Regions from separate parts of the Homo sapiens genome. Here regions 1, 2 and 3 are each linked to region 4. Evidence: promoter capture Hi-C in 16 types of primary human blood cells and fetal thymus (Javierre and others, 2016). All regions are on one chromosome and are shown on one strand. Each heading gives the region's core, a stretch centred on a gene start or on the middle of the fragment in contact. The rest is flanking DNA. Distances are from core to core; before and after follow the strand shown.

What was found. Contacts are between HindIII fragments. The CHiCAGO score rates a contact against its expected background, and 5 or more counts as called.
Region 1: a contact is called between a fragment that was not itself captured here and the fragment with the promoter of SNAI2 in region 4, in 1 of 17 cell types (M2 macrophages). The highest score is 5.2, in M2 macrophages.
Region 2: a fragment that was not itself captured here is called in contact with the fragment with the promoter of SNAI2 in region 4 in 3 of 17 cell types (M2 macrophages, M0 macrophages and M1 macrophages); the score reaches 10.1 in M2 macrophages.
Region 3: a fragment that was not itself captured here is called in contact with the fragment with the promoter of SNAI2 in region 4 in 1 of 17 cell types (M2 macrophages); the score reaches 5.2 in M2 macrophages.

Annotation. Positions count from the first base shown.
Region 1 is chr8:48,675,931-48,679,446 of GRCh38, forward strand. All of the region lies in intron 2 of LOC101929268 (a long non-coding RNA gene), which reads left to right. Among named protein-coding and RNA genes, the nearest start is that of LINC02847, 57 kb to the left of the region's middle. The HindIII fragment of the contact is 730 bases long and covers 1,007-1,736 here.
Region 2 is chr8:48,693,360-48,696,478 of GRCh38, forward strand. It overlaps LOC101929268 (a long non-coding RNA gene), which reads left to right. Exons shown (of 4, transcript NR_105002.1): 3 at 2,065-2,127. Among named protein-coding and RNA genes, the nearest start is that of CLXN, 40 kb to the right of the region's middle. RefSeq lists an enhancer at 3,065-3,119. The HindIII fragment of the contact is 1,520 bases long and covers 889-2,408 here.
Region 3 is chr8:48,723,784-48,727,068 of GRCh38, forward strand. CLXN (calaxin) reads right to left here. Exons shown (of 6, transcript NM_024593.4): 6 at 1-1,018. The coding sequence ends at 959. Among named protein-coding and RNA genes, the nearest start is that of CLXN, 9.8 kb to the right of the region's middle. The HindIII fragment of the contact is 6,529 bases long and covers 1-3,285 here.
Region 4 is chr8:48,919,851-48,923,243 of GRCh38, forward strand. It overlaps SNAI2 (snail family transcriptional repressor 2), which reads right to left and starts at 1,579. Exons shown (of 3, transcript NM_003068.5): 1 at 1,337-1,579; 2 at 46-591. The coding sequence starts at 1,415. It overlaps LOC107986942 (a long non-coding RNA gene), which reads left to right and starts at 1,707. Exons shown (of 4, transcript XR_001745895.3): 1 at 1,707-2,351; 2 at 2,840-2,914. RefSeq lists an enhancer at 1,690-1,769. The HindIII fragment of the contact is 2,868 bases long and covers 321-3,188 here.

The DNA of each region.
Region 1 (3,516 bases), core at 122-2,621, 240 kb before region 4:
ATTGTTAAGTGAAAAAAATTTTTTTTTTTTAGAGATGATCTTGCTCTGTTGCTTAGGCTGGAGTACAATGGTGTGATCATAGCTCTCTGCAGCTTCAACCTCCTTCGCTCAAGCCATACTCCCCTCTCAGTGACCTGAGTAGTTGGGACCACAGTCATGCACCACCATTCCTAGCTAATTTTTATTTATTTATTTGTTTAATTTTTTTTTAGAGATGGAAGATTCTTAAGATAATACTTCAGAAGTCTTAACAAAGCCTAGGAAAAGAGCCAAACAATTTATTTGGGACCCGAGACTCCGTGAATTCATAAAAGGTCAAGTGCCAGTGTGAAACTTAAGAAAACATCTTCCTTTGTCCGGGCATAGTGTCTCATGCCTGTAATCCCAGCACTTCGGGAGGCTGAGGCAGGCGGATCACCTGAGGTCAGGAGTTTGAGACCAGTCTGGCCAATATGTTGAAACCCTGTCTCTACTAAAAATACAAAAAGATAGCCGGGCATGGTGGCGGGCACCTGAAATCCCAGCTACTTGGGAGGCTGAGGCAGGAGAATCGCTTGAACCTTGGAGGTGGAGGTTGCAGTGAGCCGAGATCATGTCACTGCACTCCAGCCTGAGCAACAAAAGTAAAACTCCATGAAAGAAAGGAAAAGAAAAGAAAAGAAAAGAAAAAAGAAAAGAAAGAAAGAATCTCCCTTCTGTTCTCAGTCATGGAATCCTATTTGATCCTAAGCTAATGTCACTCTCCAAATCGCCACATTATGTCTACATAGGTAGAAACAATATTTATCAAAGGGAAAATTTCTAAGAATCATTTGCTACAATCATAAAACCATTTGCTGTTTATTCTATTTTGTGAGAAACTGGATTTAAGCAAGGTATAGTCAACTGATTTAAATCACTAAGAAAGAAAGATATTTGCTGTTAAAATGGACACTTCAATCCTAGCTGAGTCCACAGTATAAAAAAGTAAGAGGCAAAAGCCAAACTTTGTGGGTTAAACATAGTAAGCTTGGGTTTCCAGCCTTGCCCTTGGATGCTTTGGCTTCAGGTGAGATCTGAGGAAGTACAGGATGAGGGCTGAACACACTGCTTTCATTACAGACACACTTTTCCCTCAGTGGCATAGTGAGGGCTGGGGCTGGGGCGGGCATAGAAACCATGCTGAATCCAAAATAAATCAGGAGTAAAATTCAAAGTTCCCTTTTGGGGTGGGGTATAATAGATTGGAATATTTTTAAAGAAAATTGAATACCTTGAAACATGCTTCTGTTTTTGTGTGTGTGTGTGTGATGGAGTATCACTCTTGTTGCCCTGGCTGGAGGGCAGTGGTGCGATCTCAGCTCACTGCAACCTCCGCCTCCTGGGTTCAAGTGATTCTCCTGTCTCAGCCTCCCAAGTAGCTGGGACTACAGGCACCCACCACCACACCTGGCTAATTTTTGTATTTTTTGTAGAGACGTGGTTTCTCTATGTTGGCCAGGCTGGTCTGGAACTCCTGACCTCAGGTGATCCACCTGCCTCGGCCTCCCAAAGTGCTGGGATTACAGGCCTGAGCCACCGCACCCAGCCAAAACACGCTTCTTATCTGATCAGGAGCAGTACTTTCTGGGCTATGCGTTGCTGATGAATTGTATGTTTTCGTTTTGTCTGGAGACAAGTGAAGGATCCGTGGGGTTTTCAGGTGGCATACCTGCCCTTCCACCTCTTCCTCTGGGCTTGCCCCCTCCTATTCCAGAAGCTTCCTTTACCATCTTCACTCTCATCTTCACTTCTCAGCATCATTTTAAGGACCTATAGCCAGCAAGATACATAAAATCATTTAGACGATTACTTACAAATGAGCGCAACAGGCAGACGAAGCAAGAGGGTGGCAGCACGCAGCCCAGGCTGGGCCCAGGGTCTCAGAGTCTTGGGTCTTCACAACTCACCTGTGGTTTTCTCCCACAGGGTTGTAGGCCTGGCATGCAAAGACATCTAATTGTGTGCAAAACCTACAAACACCGTGTTGATTTGGGTCACACACACAGAAAGCACCGTTACTACATTTGTTTTGTAATTAATAATGGCTTGAAAAATTTGTTTCTCATTCTTAATGAATTTTTCTTTGAGGGACATTTGAAATCTATTATTTCAAGCTTAAGTCTTGCAAATTTATATTAGCTCTTTGCAGCAATACTTTTCTACCATATTAACATAACACACACACCCTTCTCAGCAGAGCAGTCACAGAACACATATTTCCTTTCATGAGCCAAAAGATTAACATCGTCTTCAAATAGTTCCTGAACTGATTTTTTTTTCTTGTACTGAAGATGTTGATTAAAATGACAGTACTTTACTCTAGCTACTATTTGTTTCTTTTTCTACCATGCTAGAAGAATGAGCCTTTAATCCTAAAGTTCCCCAGCGCCTCAGGCTATCAATAGTGTGGGAGATCCACTTAAGACTATTTTTTATTGCTTTGTTTCTTCTCACGGTAAACAACAAAGTTGGGGATAGGCTGGCAGTTCATCACTGGGTAAAGTTTTAGTAGCTGCACATCTGTGGATGGCCATGAGTAATCATCTCGCGCTGGTTAGGATTAGGCTGCTGGAGGGGGCGACCCTCAGGCTTTCAAGTACAACGGACGCACCTTGACCTTGGGACGTGGGGGCCTGCACACCTTCCATAGAAGAGCAGGGAGCTTAATAAGGTTTGTTAAATAAGGAATGCAATTTGTAATCACTAGTTGATTCTAACGTATTATAAGACCTGAAATCCTGTTTCCTTTTGAAGACTGCCTCTTTGTAACACCATAAATAAATACGTATATTTCTCTACATGGAAGGCCTCTATGTTCCCTACAAAGTGTGGGAACTTTGTAAAGTGTGATTCCGGGGAAAGTGCTCACAACCCTTGAAGGCCATATGTCCAGCGATGGAGAGCCATGTATGGATTTGCCTCCGGTAAGTGCTTTACTACCAGACCTCTGTGTCACAGTTGTAGGCCCTTTCTACCACAGGATTCCAATATTAATCTTCAAGTTTTAGGAGTTATATGTAAAAACTGGAAAAGGTGATAAAAGAAAATTGTAAGGTAATTTATTTGAATATTGGAATTGGACATAAGTTGAGCTAATGTGACTGTTTTAACCTAAAGAAGAAAAGGTTACATTTGTTTTCAAATATTTGGATGACAAAATAATGTAGCATTTTATAGAAAACAGATTAAAGAGATAGAAGAACCAATCAAAGTTTGAAATGGATCATGTAACAAGTCCTGTGGATGCTTTAACCTTGAAAATCAGAAACAAGATTTGCAATAGTTTGATCCTGCCAAGGCCCTTTCAGTACTAGAATTTTAGGGCAGTTTTGGCTAAATATTTTCTCCAAAAGAACAAATATTGCTTTCTGACATTAGGATCACACAGGAGATCATAACTATTTGGTAGTTTGAAGACATAATCATTGTTACGTTAGTAAAAATGGAAAAGTACATATTTCTTACAAAAATCCTACAACTTGGAGAACTGCCAAG
Region 2 (3,119 bases), core at 399-2,898, 230 kb before region 4:
ATGAATTAGGATGGTCGTGAGTGTTGGGAGTAAAAATGCCTCAGGTGCTCGGTGTGCAGGAAGTGTAGGGTGATGAATAGATAGTGTTCAAAGTGGATGAACTCCAATAATGATCTGCTGGAGGAGATAGAAAGGGGAGCCCTGTCTCTGGAGCAGAGACTTTGCCTCAGACCTGGTCAGTCCCATTGCAGATGTAATCTGGGGCCAGGATTGCGTGTGTGTGGGGCAAGCCCTGTGAGCTGGGGTGGGGCGGCCCCTCCTCCAGCCTGTGCCACCTTGTCACTGCTCTGCAGCAGGCCTGCGCAGGCTCATCTGTGCAGGTGTGGCATGCAGTCAAATTTAAGCAAAACAGGTACCCAGTTTTCTTTTTTTAAAAAAGAGAAATAGCTTTCTCCCTAACTTTTTCTTTTGGTGGGCTACTTGTATTTACAAAATTGGATTTCTCCAGTGGGGTGGGACGCACTGGTCTGTGGTGGCATGGGTGCCGCTGGGTGTTCAGTGTGGGTTCTTGTTGGGCTGCTGGCCTGTTAGGAAGGTTTGGGACTCCAGCAGTTATGCTGCTGGCAGAATCGCCTCTGACTTTGGCTGCAGAAGCAATGGCTGGGCAGAGCAGTTGCTGTCACTTGGCTTTATGATCCCCTGCCAAAAAGACACAGGTAGTCCATGTATAAAACAAACACAGCTAATGAATTCAGGAGGAGACTGGGCCCAGCCCTCCTTGGCACTGTTAAACATGCAGCATCAATCACTGTGAAAAGCTGGCTTGCTCAGTTCCCATGCTATACGCGGGGTTCCCAGATCTCCTCCACTCCAGTGAGTCCTGTAGTTTGCTTTAATTGTTCTGTCTATAGAAAGAATATATAATCCATTTATGGTAATAGGAGGTGAAGCTTGGAATCTTTCACAGGAACAGGTTCCCATTCTAGAACAAGTGACTGCTGGAAAACTATCCTGATGGTTTACCCCTTCATGCCCCTCCCCTCAGCTGGAAACAAAACATCCCATGAAAACAAACAAAATCATCACACATACATACCCACACCTGCACCAGGGACACATGCGGGGCCATGACAACTCTGCAGTGTCTATTTCACGGGGTGGTTGATATATTTCAACAAATTTCGTTAAATTGCTATGGCTTTTAAGGAGATCTGATAAAAAGGAAGTTAGATTATTTAAACTGGCCAAACGTAAGAATTAGCTAAGCCTTTCTAGGAAAAACAGCATAAAAGTGGGGTAAGTGTCAAAGGGAACCAAAACAGTATCGGAGAAAATGCTTTTAAGACATGTTGCACTAATAATACTAAGCATGATACAAAGAATAGCTGAACACTTGATACTGCTCTAAGTACCTAACGTACTGACGGAAAATTACTTACTTGCTCCTCTAGAATCAACATCGTCATCCCAAGTAGGAGACCAGAGTCTGTAATCTCAGAGAGGCTGAGATGCTGCCCTCCAGTGTGATGTGAGAGATGAGTGTTGGGGACATAGCAGATGATAGCCTCGCTTTCCCTATATTTGTAGAAGAGCAATAAAGGCCCATGCATCTCACCAGTGTAGAAGAGGAACTGGAAGGGAGGGAGGGAGGGCCATCCGGCCATGGGGAGCTGCCTGAGCAAGGCTTCCCGCTCTGCCAGGCTAAGGAGGGCAGGCCAGGCAGCTGTCGCTCACATGCTCTGGCCTGCATATTTGGGAGGGGAAGAGCGCCTCCTTGCCAATGTGCTGCAAAGTGCTCAGCCATGAGAATTGCCACAAATCCTGTGGAGCATGCACCTTTGGAAGCATCAGGCTGGAGCTTTGACACACAAAAGAATTTTGGAAAGCCAAGTGGCCCTTGCCAAGGTTTTAGAGCTGGGATTTATCAAAGGCTTACCTGCCACACTAGTCATAAGGAGCTCCAGGTGTCTGGGGCTCACCTGAAGCCACCTGTGATTTCCGTAGGGCCGTGTGGGAGCTATGGGTAAGCGCCTACTCCAGCTCTTGGGTAGGCCTACTTTGATCAAATGTTCTTGCATCGTAAACATTAGTCATAGGAAAGTGAGACTTCTGTGTTCTCTGTAGGTTTGTCTTCTCCTGAGGAAGTGGATGCCATGTGTCACTTTGCAGATGGATCAAGTGCAGGAGGTAAAATAACTCCCTGAGCTTCCCAGATCTTCCATTCATCATTCTTTTTCTTTCCCTTGGAAAACTGATTTGCACAGAAATGAGAAGTTTACTCTCTTGCTTTTGGATCTGTTGCATGATCGCAAAGAAAAGAAATGCCTTACTTGATATTTCGACATTAAACTTTACAATCTGGAGAATTTTTCTTCCAGCACCTCGTCCTGGGTAGTTGAGTATAACGGCCCCCATATTTTGACCAGGAACTGAAATGAACCCCATCCAGGGCTTGCTTGGGTGTGGAAAGCTTTCAGACTCATGGGTGGAGCAGAAATCCTCATGCTGCACTCCCCCATGAAGCAGAAGTCACAATCTGTGTAGAGTCATGGAGAGGAGGAAGTTGAACTTCACTGTGCTCCGAAAATAAGACATTGTGTGGTAGAGTGTGGGCCAGCAGCCTGGGTAAGGCATGGCCCAGGTAGAGAGCTCAGGATGACTAGGTGTCTTCCCTCATTGCCACTAGGAAGTGAGTTCACTCCCAGACTCTCCTAGGACCTCAGTCTTAAGAGCGATCACAGCTGCCTGTTAACCAGCCTGAATGCAAAAAGTGAAAAAGCATTGCCTTCAACTGGAAAAGAAGGGCACCTTTGAAGGAGCTGCTGCAGAGAGGTCATTGGAGGAAATCTCAGCATCCCCCACGCCCTCCCCTCCCTGTGGCTGGAAGCCATGGGGGGGCTTTCATGTTAGGTCAGAGGCTTCCCCACAGCCCCTTTCCCTTGTCTTGGAATGTCTGTGTGAGGGCGTGGCTGGCAGAGTGGCCGGAAGTCCACAGAGTGAGAGGAGTAGGTGCTGGACCTGGCATGCAGACTCTGGGCTGTGACTCAGGCCCAGGCAGGGTGGGTGGGGAAGGGAGTGGTGGGGACATGGGGTCCTGACGGAGGTCGGGAGGCACAGGGTGTGGGTGCTGCTTGTCTCCCCAGCTTCTCCACCGCACCATGTGTCTGGGTCTGTGATTA
Region 3 (3,285 bases), core at 97-2,596, 200 kb before region 4:
CCAGGCAGTGGGGGGATGGGGACACTATGGTGCACTCAGGCAGTGGCAAGGGGGCAATACGTGGAGTCAGGATGGAGGAACACTGGGTGCCAGGACAGAGGGGGGCTTTGGCAACCATCTGCAATGCATGGGGCAGGGACTATCTGGAAGGACTGCAGGGATACACTGAAAGCTGTGCCAATGCATTAGCCATGAAACCTAAGAAACTCAGTACATGTTCTCCCTCTGCTCACCAAGAGTTTGCATTTATCTTGTGGTACTTTTTGATTTTCAGTCCAATCTACAGTAATTATGGACAGCCCATTGTATGCAGAGGACTAAATGCTATGGCAGACAAAGATGTGGTGGATAAAACCCTTGCCTTCAGGTGCTTACAATCAGTAACGTTATTTAGCCAAAGCCTCAAACAATAATGCAAATCATATTATATTTCAATATAATATGATTTCCATGTATCTTTCATCTCTCTAGATCTCCCTCAATGCCTACCAGAAAGGCGTTTCAATGCTCAATAGAATACTCTTATTCTTTTGATGCCATCTTCATTATTTGTTTCAAAGGAAATCCAGTAGTTTCAATGATTTTTCAGTGTACACCCAGCTTCTTTTTGACATGCAGAATATTTGTATTAACAATTCATAATTATGTAATCTCTCTATTCATTTAATGAACCCAAAGGTTTTATGCCAGTTATGTGCTTCGACAGATAGTCTATGTGATAAAACATCTGTAGAAAAGTTAACTGTCTTGCCAAACCCATCATCTAATAAGGGACTTCTTGTCTTCCATCTATTTTAATTGCATCTTACACTGATGTTAAATGATATATGTAAGTGAACCTCATCTTCACCCTGAAACACACAATTCAACATCATTTTTCTGAACTAAGTAGAAAAAATAAGCAATATGTGTGTGCCTCCTTTTTTACTCACTTGAGACAATATAGACATTTAGTTATTCACATATCATTGAATTCATTTGGATCTTTGAATACTTGAGCTTCAAATTCCATCTGGCTCTGTAAAAAAAGGTACTCAATTTAGTATAAATTTCCAAAAAAGGTAGAACACCACAAAATATTCTGTATGTCTCCTTAGTGTAGAGACAGGATAACTGAGGGTTAGTGGGCATCGAGAACTTCTGGTGTTCAAGCGTTTCACTCACAGATCTCATGACTACACTCAAAACACAGTGCTTGGTTATGTGGCCACAAAGATGAGCAAGACCAATTGACCCAACTCTCCAAAAGTCTCCAGCCTGGTGGCAGAGACTGGCCAGAAACTTGCAAGAATCAGTCAGGGCTGCATGGGCTGTGGTAGGGAAAGGCACATGGTAGACTATGGGAGTCCAGGAGGAACAATCAAGGCACAGCCGGGCCTTGGTTGGGAACGAGGCACTCTCTGGAACAGGAAGGCTGTACTGAGAGCCAAGGGTGAGGGGGATGTGGTTCAGTAAGGTAAGAAGCCAAGAGCATTCAAGGGATTTATTCACAAGGTGGGAGGGTGACCTTGCAATAGCAGATTCAGGGGTAGATAGGAAGAAGTGATAGTAGTTAGATATTAAATCTGGACAATTCTTTCAAGAAGCTAGGTTTTAAGAAGGAAAGCCATTATATAAGAAACAGAAGTAATAAGTGTGAAATTAAGGTAAGTTCTCTCCTTTTCTTTCCTTCTTCCTCTCATTCTTTCATTTTGCTTTTCAGATGGGACAGTTTTGAATCTTTTAAAATTCTAATGGGAGCCAGGCATGGTGGCTCATGCCTGTAATCCCAGCACTTTAGGAAGCCGAGGCAAGCTGATCACTTGAGGTCGGGAGTTCGAGACCAGCCTGACCAACATGGAGAAACCACGTCTCTACTAAAAAATATAAAATTATCCGGGCGTGGTGGCGCATGCCTCTAATCCCAGCTAGTCGGGAGGCTGAGGCAGGAGAATCACTTGAACCTGGGAGGCGGAGGTTGCGGTGAGCCGAGATTGTGCCATTGCACTGCAGCCTGGGCAACAAGAGCAAAACTCCGTCTCAAAAATAAATAAATAAATAAATAAATAAATAAATAAATAATAAAATTCTAATCGGAAGGTTTCACTAGAGAGGGAAGAGATTGAAGATGTGGTATAAAGATAAAGGTAAATGAATGAAATAGCTCCTGAGGAGATGGAGAGATCCAGAGCTCCCCATCAGGCACTTCTGAGACCCACCCACCCACCTCACCATCCATCCACCTCATCCATTAATCCATCCACCCATCCATCTACCCACCCACCTACCTCGCCCATCCACCCACCTCACCCATCCATCCATCCATCCACCCATCCATCTACCCACCCACTCCATCCATCCATCCATCCATCCATCCATCCATCCATCCATCCACCCACCCACCCCATCCACCCATCCATCCACTCATCCATCCATCTATCTACCCACCCTCCCATTCACTTCATCCATCCATCCATCCATCCATCCAACCATCCATCATCTATCTATCCATCCATCCATCCATCCATCCACCCACCTATCCATCCATGTACCTACACAGCCATTCACCTCATCCATCCACCCATCCACCCACTCATCATTTCATCTGCCCATCCATCTATTCACCTACCTCACCCATCCATCTGCTCACCTCATCCATCCATCCACTCATCCATCTACCCACCCACCTACCTCACCCATCAATCCATCTCATCCATCCATTCATCCATCCATCCATCCATCCATCCATCCATCCAATCCATCCATCCACCCATCTATCCATCCATCTACCTACCCGCACATTCACCTCACCATCCATCCGTCCATCCACCCACCCACTCATCTTTTTATCTACCCATCCATCTACCCACCCACCCACCTCACCCATCCACCCACCTCATCCATCCATGCATCCATCCATCCATCCACCCATCCATCTACCCACACACCTACCTACCTCACCCATCCATCTACTCACCTCACCCATCCATCCATCCATCTACCCACTTACCCACCCACCTCACCCATCAACCCAGTTCATCATCCATCCATCCATCCATCCATCCATTGTCCATCCATGCATCCACCCATCTATCCATGCATCTATCAATCTATCTATCTATCTATCTATCTATCTATCTATCCACCCACCCATCCATTCACCCACCCACGCATCCAACCATCCATATAACCAATCACCCACTTCACCTATCCACCCACCTCATCCATCCACTCATCCATCCATCCATCCATCCATCCATCCATCCATCCATTCATCCATCCACACACCCATCCATCCATCTACCC
Region 4 (3,393 bases), core at 329-2,828:
CATTGTATCTCAGAGTAACATTCCTGCCTATGGTTTTTCTCTTACCCGTGTGAGTTCTAATGTGTCCTTGAAGCAACCAGGGTCTGGAAAACGCCTTGCCGCAGATCTTGCAAACACAAGGTAATGTGTGGGTCCGAATATGCATCTTCAGGGCGCCCAGGCTCACATATTCCTTGTCACAGTATTTACAGCTGAAAGATTTTCTAGACTGGGCATCGCAGTGCAGCTGCTTATGTTTGGCCAGCCCAGAAAAAGTTGAATAGGTCTTATTGCATAAATTGCACTGAAACTTTTCAGCTTCAATGGCATGGGGGTCTGAAAGCTTGGACTGTAGTCTTTCCTCTTCATCACTAATGGGGCTTTCTGAGCCACTGTGGTCCTTGGAGGAGGTGTCAGATGGAGGAGGGGGACTCACTCGCCCCAAAGATGAGGAGTATCCGGAAAGAGGAGAGAGGCCATTGGGTAGCTGGGCGTGGAATGGAGCAGCGGTAGTCCACACAGTGATGGGGCTGTATGCTCCTGAGCTGAGGATCTCTGGTTGTGGTATGACAGGCATGGAGTAACTCTCATAGAGATACGGGGAAATAATCACTGGGAAAGAAAAGGGAGGGAGAGAAGATTAAGGCAAAAATAATTAAAAATAAATCCACACGCAAGTATACACACACTGGAAAGATATTTAGCAACACACACGTGATTTTCTTAGGAAGAAGATAGACCCATTTAGGAGGGCATACACACTGGTAAAATGTTTCATTTCCACCCTGGCACCTACGGAGTTACTGTACTTAATGCACACATAGGCTGACAGCTGCACGGAGCTATAGGTGCTCTGAAGTCAGACAGTGCAGCCAAGCCAGTGCCTTCGCCGTCCCCATTGAGGAAGGAGAGCCTCAACATTATTTTTAAACATACAGAAAAGTTGTTTTCCATGTTACGTATGGGCTATTTAGGTGTATTACGACCGTGAGTACAAAGATATGCCTGCATCAAGCCGCCTTCTAAAGGAAAGGAGACTTAGTGCATGAAAAACGCAGTAATTCAATCCTTATGTTGCTCATCTTTCACATACTCATTATGCATGTATACACAGGCTTTAGCAAACGAAGCTGCGAGATTTGAATGAAATGTTCCTTGTTAGTCAAGAATTTTAAAAGTTTTGAATTAAAACGAACCCTAAATGATCAAAAGAATGTAAGCTCCCTTTCAGGACACTGTTAAAAAGGAAAACAGTTGAATCTTTGGCTCTTTTGTAATGGTATTTGAAGGGTAATACGTAGATTCATATTTGCAAAGCTCTAGATACGTAGTTCTAGATATATTTTTCTCTTTTTACCTGTATGTGTGTCCAGTTCGCTGTAGTTTGGCTTTTTGGAGGCGTTGAAATGCTTCTTGACCAGGAAGGAGCGCGGCATCTTGCCAGCGGGTCTGGCGGGCGCCCGGCGCGGATAACGGTCCGGCGGGAGGACACGGCGGTCCCTACAGCATCGCGGCGGGCCAGGCTCGGGCAGGGGCCGTGCTCAGGTGCGGCAGACGGACGGGCCGGCGCCTCTGAAGTCACCCGGCTCCTTTACGAACTGAGCCCGTTTTGGCTGGGAGGGTTTTTTTTTCCTCTCTTTTGCAAGAAAGATCCAATCACAGCTGAGAGGTTCAGATTTCAGCTCCTCCCTCTGGGACAGCTGTGAACAGAGGAAGAATCTGTTGTCAGACTAAATTATTCTGGTTCAAAATGGGCTGTTTTTTGAGATTTCAGTGGAGAGGAAAAAAAGTGTTTAAGTATTTTCAAGAGAGGTAACCTCGCTCGGTGAGCCCCGCCCGCGATCCACGCTCTCTGGGAGCTAGGAGGGGCGCAGGAGCCGGGGTCTCTGCCCTGCCCGCCTGGCTTCCAGATGTGGTGCAGCGCCAGCGCGCGGGGACACAGTGTCCGCCAGGAGAAGGAAGGGCCGCCCTGCACCACACCAGGCCAGCCTCTGGTGTTAATGAGAGCCTATATTTGGAAGTGGCATCTGGAGAGGTTTGCCTTGCACAAAGACCAAATAATTACCTCTTGGCTTTTGAAAAAGGAAGGGGGAAGCGGGAAGACAAAGGCGCCTGTGAGCGCGGAGGACGCTCTCCTGGGACTCTGGCCTGGAGCGGGACTGCAGCCTTGCGTGCGGCGAGGGCGCTGCGCTACTCAGGGCTTCCGCGAAGCCAGGGGCAGCGCGGCCGCGTGCAAATTAAGTACTCATGTCACCGTGTTAGCTATGGTGGCTTGAAAGAAATGCTTTGTAGCCCTCTAAAGGCAGGCTGATCGGAAGAACTGGAAGATTGCAAAGATAAAAAGGAACTCTGGCAGAGAAGGGGGGCAAGAGGTAACTGTCATTTGGAACCACCGGACATTCTCTCACACTTTTGACAAGAGATCTTATCTTTTCATGTATTACAGTGCATCTTTTTTTTTATGGGAAAAAGGGTTGTATGGGTCTTTAGAGACAATTATTTTTATTTCTAATATTCCCCTGCTTTTATGTGGTGCTATTTTCATCAGTATAAAGCCATTAAAATCCATCTCAGTATCTACCAGTTTCCTGTATAATGCTAAAAAAGAAATTGAAGGATATTATTATGAATATAGATTGATTAAAGTTTTAAGAACCCAGTCTAGTAACTGCAAAAACACCTTTATTTTGTGTATGGTCTTCAATCTAAAAATACTTTCAGGTGGTTTATTTTAAATATAAAATTTCAAGCATATTTTAAAGCATCTCTGTCCATTGCAGACTTTTATCCCTATCTTTTGCTAAAAGAATAAGGAAAGAACAAATTCACATGAAGATCACCCTACTCTTGTTTCTAACAGGTGCTGGAGGAAAAAAGTGAAAAAGAAAATAACAGTGGTGATGTCAAGACTTGTCAGAGAAAAGTGCATTGTCAGGTTGCATAACTTCTTAATCTTGGAATGAGAAAACAAGAGTGTATGTGTGTTTGGAGGGTGAGGTGGGGCACTCACAGATTTCCTAAGCTAATTTCAATGATTATTCTTATTTCTTCCAACAGTCACTAATTTAAATGTCAAACAGAGAAAATAATTCAAAGGAATCCTTATGCTAATGGAACTGTACTTGCAGGAGAGAGGAAAATATGAATACATATTCGATTTCTCCACACACAAACTGGAACCTGGAGTAAAAGCCAGAGGCAGTTTTCTAAGCTTGCTACTCTATGTGAGGGTTTGTTCGGATGTAGGCACCTGGGTTTATGAGAGCAGGAGTCCTCCTTGCTTTTCACTCCATTTCCCACAAAACACACATTTTTGTTACAGATATAGCACAGTTGAGAAAACACATATCGCCATGGCTATTATTTCCTTGTTTCACTCTACACAGTCTATTCACAACAAAGAAGAGTGTTAGA